Regions from separate parts of the Homo sapiens genome. Here region 2 is linked to region 1. Evidence: promoter capture Hi-C in 16 types of primary human blood cells and fetal thymus (Javierre and others, 2016). All regions are on one chromosome and are shown on one strand. Each heading gives the region's core, a stretch centred on a gene start or on the middle of the fragment in contact. The rest is flanking DNA. Distances are from core to core; before and after follow the strand shown.

Region 1 (3,844 bases), core at 676-3,175:
TATTATAATTAATCTAGAAATGATTTACCATATGTGGGAAGATGTGCATAGGTTATGTGGAAACACTATTCCATTTTACATAAAAGACTTCAGAATCCATGGATGTGGGCATCCTGAGGGGTCCTGGAACCAATTCCTCATGGACACCAAGGGGACTGTATAGTTTATTATCTGACCTTGAGGAAATGTTGTACCAATAAAAGGGGTTCCCTAACAACTTTTCTTTCTTCTATTATCCTTCAATTGATATATTTCAGAGAAATTTTATATGTAAAACAGAAGGTGAGGTGATCTGGCTGAACCCTATCTCTCACATCCTCTCCACTTCCAGAATAAACCCTCTGTATAATTTGAAGTTTGTATAACACAGAACACCCAGTTTTGAATTTTACAACCCTACACATTGAAAAAATATTGGGGGCTACAGGCCTACAGAGAATATTTGTATTTTGCCAAATGAGAACTTTAAAGGGAGCAAAATTATCCTTGCTGTCACTCCGGCAGGGTCAAATATCAGAATGAAAGGCATTTCTTCCCAAGGAAAAAGAGCTGGCCGGGCGTGGTATCTCACGCCTGTAACTCCGGCACTTTGGGAGGCCGAGGTGGGCAGATCACCTGAGGTCAGGAGTTCGAGACCAGCTTGGCTAACATGGTGAAAACCGGTTTCTACTAAAAATACAAAAAATTTAGCCAGGTGTGGTGGTACGTACCTGTAATCTCAGCTACTTGGGAGGCTGAGGCAGGAGAATCACTTGAACCTGGGAGGAGGAGGTTGCAGTGAGCCAAGATCATGCCATTGCACTCCAGCGTGGGCAACAAGAGCGAAACTCCATCTCAAAAAAAAAAAAAAAAAGAGTTTAATCCTCAGTGAACACTTTTGCCTCTAAGTGTATTGGAGTTAGAGTTCATGCCAGTCCTTAGGAAAGCATTTTGGAAGCATGGCTAAGGACATTCTGGGATCTGAACAACTCTACAATGTACCTGCTACAAGTGAAGATGCTTCCCCCTTGGGACCTCACGGAGGACCACCACTTGGTTCTCTTGGGAGCTACCCCAGAATCCTCACATGTCTGAACTGGCAAGAACAGGGCCTGCTGATGTCTTGGGAGAGCAAGGTACAAACCTGCATCTGACTTCGAATTAGCCTCTGGACTCGATATAAGTAGGTGTCGTTGCTGGCATTGTTGTAGGATTGAATGAAGAAGTTGAGTGTTGAATTCATGTTCTTCTTGCTCATGAGCTTCTGCTGGAAGCCCTCCCACCTTTGGAAGTGACCCAGCTTGGCTGACAGGACCAGGGCAATCAGCAGCAGCAGGGGGTTTCTCCAGCATCCGATCCCCATGTCTACAGCCTCAGAAACTTTCTTCCCAACTGCACCTTCCAGGGTGTGGTGGTGCCAGGCTGCAGTTCACTCATTCTCCCATCATAACCCTCACCAACATAGGCTTTCCTGGGGGATGGCCTGCCTGCATTTAAACAGAGATTCAGACCTGAACCTTGTCACTCAGTTTCCAGCCAGTTCATTTTCTACCCATTTACACCACCCATTCAGTTCTTTGGTGATCCAGGCAAGCAAAATTTTTAAACACCTGCTAAGGCGTGCAAGCCCCTCTCCCTGCCTTCACATGTCTCAGGGAAGAAAAGCCCCAGAACAGCCCCTACAGTGCTCTGCAATAAGAGCTGGGGTTGTAGATAGAGAAGCATCACTTACAGGAAGGGAGGCGGCCTTACGGAGAAGGTAATATCTGAACTGAGATATAAGGAAGCAGTCATATGGAGCAAGGAGTGGTACATTATTCTTACCTTCCTTGGGTTCCAACTGTCTTACAAAGCCACCACCTGTTCCCTGTGCTTCCTTTACAGACACGTTCTCCTTGCTCACCTGCCGCCCGCCCACCACAGATTTCTGCTTGCAGGATCCCCCTATACCTGCAGGCCCTGCACTGGCTTTTGCTATCTTGTTGTGACCCTAGTGGAGCTTTGTGAGGTAATTGCAGCCTCCCTATGAGGGAGGAATAAACTGTGAGCCCCATTTAGAAATTATCCGCAGACCCCTGAAGATTAGGTGTCACTTACCCCCAAAAGCCCATGAATGCCCTATTTTAAAAACATTTGCTGGCTGGGCGCGGTGGCTCACGCCTGTAATCCCAGCACTTTGGGAGGCTGAGGTGGGTGAATCACCAGAGATCAGGAGTTCGAGACCAGCCTGGCCAACATGGTGAAACCCCATCTCTACTAAAAATACAAAATTAGCTGGGTGTGGTGGTGTGTACCTGTAGTCCCAGTTACTTGGGAGGCTGAGGCAGGAGAATCACTTGAACCCAGGAGGTGGAGGCTGAAGTGAGCCGGGAGGGTGCCGCTGCACTCCAGCCTAGGTGACAGAGCGAGACTGTGTCTCAGAAAAAAAACAAAAAACAAACAAAAAAAAACACCTTAAATGGAATCCTACCAGAAAAAAACATTAGTGGAATAGTTGATGAAATGTGAATAAAATCTGCAGATTAGTTAATAGTATTGTGTGAATGTTGATATTCTAGTTTTCACCGTTGTACTGTGATTGTATAATATGTTAACATTTGGGGAAGTGGAATGAAGGGTATACGAGAATGCTTTATGCTATTTTTGCAGCCTTTGTGTAAGTCTGAAATTATTCCAAAATAAAGGTTAAAATGTCCAAAACTAAATAAAGCGTTGTTCTGTGAGGAGTAGCGTGCTGAGGGAGGGGAAGCAGGAGACTTAGGATCCAACTGTCCTGGCTCAAGTCCTTCGCTGGGGACTCTGGGAGAGTTACCTCATCTCCCTAAGCTGGGTTTCTTCACCTGTAATATGAGAATGGGGAGAAAGACTCCACTTGAATTGTGGTAGAGACTAACTGGATGTAGGCAAAGAACCTGCTCCCAAGTCAGGTGTCAGGTGCATAAGAATGTCTTCTTCGTGATTCTTCTGTGACTCTGAACCCACACTTCACCCATGGCCTGTCATGTCCCGGAAGCCAGGCCACCTTCCATCATGACAATGTTGCTAGCACCAGTCACAACATCCTCCCTTGGCCCCAGAGCCTGTCTTGAGAGGACTTGTCCAGCCGGTGGAGGTGATACATTTGAAATTCCCTGAGCCTGAGCTGCCGAGGGCCACTTGCTGTAGAATAGATAATGAAGGATTCCGAGTAATCCGGGAAGCCACACAGACCTGTGCCGTCTCAGCATGCCCCAGACACCTGGGATACCCCCATCAGGCTGAGGCCCATAGAGAGGAAAAATAACATTGGGTGGGCCATATTAGAAACCCCATGGATGTGGGGCTCAAAGCATAAACAATAAATCTGCTTAAGAAATATGGGAGTTGGTTGTGTCCATAAAGAGGAAAATGAGTCACTGGCAATTTTAATTGAAGAAAAGGAAAACATAGACCCTGACTATGCCACAGAAAGAGATGTGAGGCGCCTAACAGGTCACACTGGCGTTCCTTAGCTTGTGTCAGCAAAATGCTGATTTCTGACTCTGTGGACATGGAATCAGGAAAAAAATATGATTCTGGTAAGGTACATGTATAAAGGGAGACAGGGAGCTTGGTTACAGCATGGAATAGGGGCAGAGCATAGTGGCTGACACCTGGGAGGCTGAGGCTAGGAGGATTGCTTCAGCCCAGGAGTTCCAGACCAGCCTGGGCAACATGGTGAAACCCCGTTTCCACAGAAAATACAAAAATTAGCCAGACATGGTGGCCCACATCTGTAGTCCCAGCTACTCTGGAGGCTGAGGTGGGAGGATCACCTGAGCCCAAGAGAGGTCGAGGCTGCAGTGAGCTGAGATCACACCAAGCACTCCAGCCTGGGCGACAGAAC
Region 2 (3,566 bases), core at 448-2,947, 110 kb after region 1:
TGCCTCCAGACCCTATTCTTCTGCCTCATCTGGACCACCCATGTGAGGGCCGCTCTTCGGAAGATTTATCCTTAGAGAACAAAGGGCTCAGAGAAATACTGCCTCAAGCTGCACATTGGCCCAACTCAGTTTTATTTTATTTTATTTTATTTTATTAATTTATTTATATATTTGTTTATTTATGACAGAGTCTTTTTCTTGTCGCCCAGGCTGGAGTGCAGTGGCATGATCTCGGCTCACTGCAACCTCCACCTCCCGGGTTCAAGTGATTCTCCTGCCTCAGCCTCCTGAGTAGCTGGGAGTACAGGCGCCTGCCACCATGCCCAGGTAATTTTTGTATTTTTAGTAGAGACGGGGTTTCACCATGTTGGCCAGGCTGGTCTCGAACTCCTGACCTCAAGTGATCCACCCGCCTCAGCCTCCCAAAGTGCTGGGATTACAGGCTTGAGCCACTGCGCCTGGTCAGTTTTTTTTTTTTTTTTAAGTTTCTTCTTGGCATCACCAGTTAAAAGAGATTGAGAACAAGAACGTTCTTTCAGCGTGCCCACACCCCTGCCTGGCTTAACGGGTTTGAAATGTGAGGGGAAGCCAAGTAGCCAGCTTGCCTCTGTTACTCATGGCCCAGTGGGTCGGCTCATGACCCTCAGGCCAGCCTGTGCCACTTTGGTGACTGGTGGCTACTTTGTGGTCAACTCTTGAAGCATCAGCACAGCATGAACAAACCAAAAGTGAAATTCAGAAATGGCTGCAGAAGCCAAACTGTTACCCAGCCCCTCTGAAATCCCCCAAGCACTGGGGGAGCCACAACCAGTTTGGGGGCCATTAGGAACATTTTAATCTATAAGGCTATGTGCTATGGAGGGGTAGGGGAGAGATGGTTGCAGGAGGCCATGGGAGGGTTGAGACCCACAGGCCAGAGTCCAGGCCATAAGACCCTCATGATGAGAATGTTGACAATAACAAAATACTACTACTACTACTGCTGCTACTACTACTGCTGCTGCTGCTGCTGCTGCTGCTGCTGCTACTACTGCTACTACTTACGTTTTAACATTTTTCAGAGCTTTGCTATTTATGATTATTCTGTCCTAGATGATTGCAGCAACATTATGAAGTACGTCTCAGGTTGAGTCCCCTAGAAACAGACCCTGAGATGGAGATTTGCATGTAGGGGTTCGTTGGGGAGGGGATCTTGGGAGTCCCACCTGGGAAGGGTAAGAGAGCAGTGGGGCTTTGATGCTGCTGCAACAGAGGCCTCCACTGGCCCCTGGGGAGCTTGGAGCTTTGGAAACCTGCAGAGTTGAAGCAAGGGTTCCCCGTGTCCCTTCCATAGGCTGCTCATTAGACCAGCGGGGGGTTTGGTGAGGATGCAGAAGGCGCTCAGCCACCAGTGTGGAAGGGGTACCCTGGCCTTGGAGCAGAATCTGAAGAGGACACTGAGCACCCACCACACATGGGCACTCTCAGGATCTCTGCTACAGAGCAGGTGCTGAGTAGTGAGATTTGCCCAGGGAATGAGCCTACCTGGTGGGATCATCATGTGGACCTGGAGGTCCTGACTTACTCAAGACCACTCAGCTACTAAGTGGCCACACTGGGATTCCAGCTAAAGACTGTTTTAGGTTAGAGCTTCCTGATCTCAGAATGGACCCCCTGACCTAAGAATAGGACCCCCCCCCACCTCAGGATGGACTCCCCAACATTAGAATAAACTCTCTGACCTCAGAATGAATTCCTGGGCCTAAGAATGAACTTTCTGACCTCAGAATGGATTCCCTGACCTCAGAATAGACTCTCTGACCTCAGAATGGACCCCCTGACCTAAGAATAAATCCCCCACCTAAGAATGAACCTCCAACCTGAGAATGAACTCCCGAAGCAATAATGGATTCCCTAACCTAAGAATAGACTCTTCAACCTAAGAATAAACTTCCTGACCCAAGCATGAATCCCCTGACCTAATAATAGACTCCCCAACCTAAACAGGAACTTCCTGACCTAGGAATGAACTGCCTGACCTCAGAATGAACTTCTTTACTTAAGAATGAACTTTCTGCCATCAGAATGGACCCTTGACCTCAGAATGAACTCCCCGACCTCAGAATGAACTCCCTGACCTCAGAATGGACTCCCTGACCTCAGAATGGACTCTCTGACCTCAGAATGAACTCTCTGAACTCAGAATGAACTCTCTGAACTCAGAATGAACTCCCTGACCTCAGAATGGATTCCCCGACCTAAGAATGGACTCCCTGACCTAGGAATGAACTCTCTGACCTCAGAATGAACTTTCTGAACTCAGAATGGACTTCCTGACCTCAGAATGGATTCCCTGACCTAAGAATGAACTCCTTGATCATTTTGCAGGTGATGCTCGGGAGCACCAGTAGGGAGTGGGAAAGCAAACAGGGAAGGGAAAGAAGGCCAGCCAGGCACAGTGGCTCATGCCCATAATTCCAGCACTTTGGGAGGCCAAGGTGGGTGGATCACCTGAGGTCAGGAGTTTGAGACCAGCTTGGCCAACGTGGTGAAACCCCATCTCTACTAAAAATACAAAAATTAGCCAGACGTGGTGGTGCACACCTGTAATTCCATCTACTTGGGAGGCTGAGGCAGGAAAATTGCTGGAATCTGGGAGGTGGAGGTTGCAGTGAACCATGATCATGCCACTGCACTCCAGCCTGGGCGACAGTGACACTCTATCTCAAAAAAAAAAAAAAAAAGAAAGAAAGGAGGCACTGGGAATGCTGAGGGGCTCTGGCAAATGGTGATTATCTATCCAGAGCCCTTTCTGAAGCATTGCTCTGCAGACCCGCCAGCCAGGGTTTTCATTAAGTAGCATTAAGTCATAACCTTAAGTAATAAAGCAAGCATGCATAGAAGGGCAAAGCCAGTCACTTCTCAGACCCCGAACCCCTCAGTGAAGGTTGGTGCATGCAACGGGCTGGCCCTTTGGTGGAGACTGAAGAAAGAGTTTATTGCAGGTGGGAATATTATTTAAACAGGGATTGATGGAGGACAAAAGGGGCTTCTGGTTCCATGAGGCAGGAGATAAATGAGATGGGAATCCTGAGTCATGCATTTTATTCACTTCTCTGGAACGAGTTTTGGGGGCTCATTTAGCAGAGAAAATAGGACAAGAAAAATGGACTCAGCTGGCATTGGACAGAGTCAAAGCCAAATGACTTCTGGGTTCTAAATTTTTTTGTTTTGTCTTTATTCATACGTGTTGGTTGTTTGGATTGTTTTTCATTGACCATTGTAAGCTAAATCCATATCAGGAGGATCTGAAAAGCTCATAATAAAAATATAAAGTAGAGACCAAGGGTTGTAAAAGTGGCATTTTACTCAAGATATAGTAAGGCTGTTTTACAATAGTGGGTAGTAATCAATAATTTAAATGAAAACCCTCAAGGGTTAGATGATGATAGAGCTGATGTTCTTCTTATTGACCAAGATGCACCAACCAGTCTTGAAGAGGATCTCGTTTTGTAAAGGAGCCATGCAGAAGAAGAATTCCCAGAGGGAGCCTAATGTCTGTGAAATGTCATATATTGCTTACACAG

The links. The method cuts DNA at HindIII sites, captures the fragments that hold promoters and counts their contacts. A CHiCAGO score of 5 or more calls a contact.
Region 2: a contact is called between a fragment that was not itself captured here and the fragment with the promoter of CSTL1 in region 1, in 6 of 17 cell types (activated CD4 T cells, naive CD4 T cells, total B cells and 3 more). The highest score is 7.3, in activated CD4 T cells.

What each region holds. Positions count from the first base shown.
Region 1 is chr20:23,437,766-23,441,609 of GRCh38, reverse strand. It overlaps CSTL1 (cystatin like 1), which reads right to left and starts at 1,925. Exons shown (of 4, transcript NM_138283.1): 1 at 1,804-1,925; 2 at 1,124-1,466. The coding sequence starts at 1,342. The HindIII fragment of the contact is 9,312 bases long and covers 1-3,844 here.
Region 2 is chr20:23,332,790-23,336,355 of GRCh38, reverse strand. The region is part of intron 1 of NXT1-AS1 (NXT1 antisense RNA 1); the gene reads left to right. LOC105372571 (a long non-coding RNA gene) reads left to right here and starts at 489. Exons shown (of 3, transcript XR_937379.3): 1 at 489-3,566. The HindIII fragment of the contact is 7,152 bases long and covers 1-3,566 here.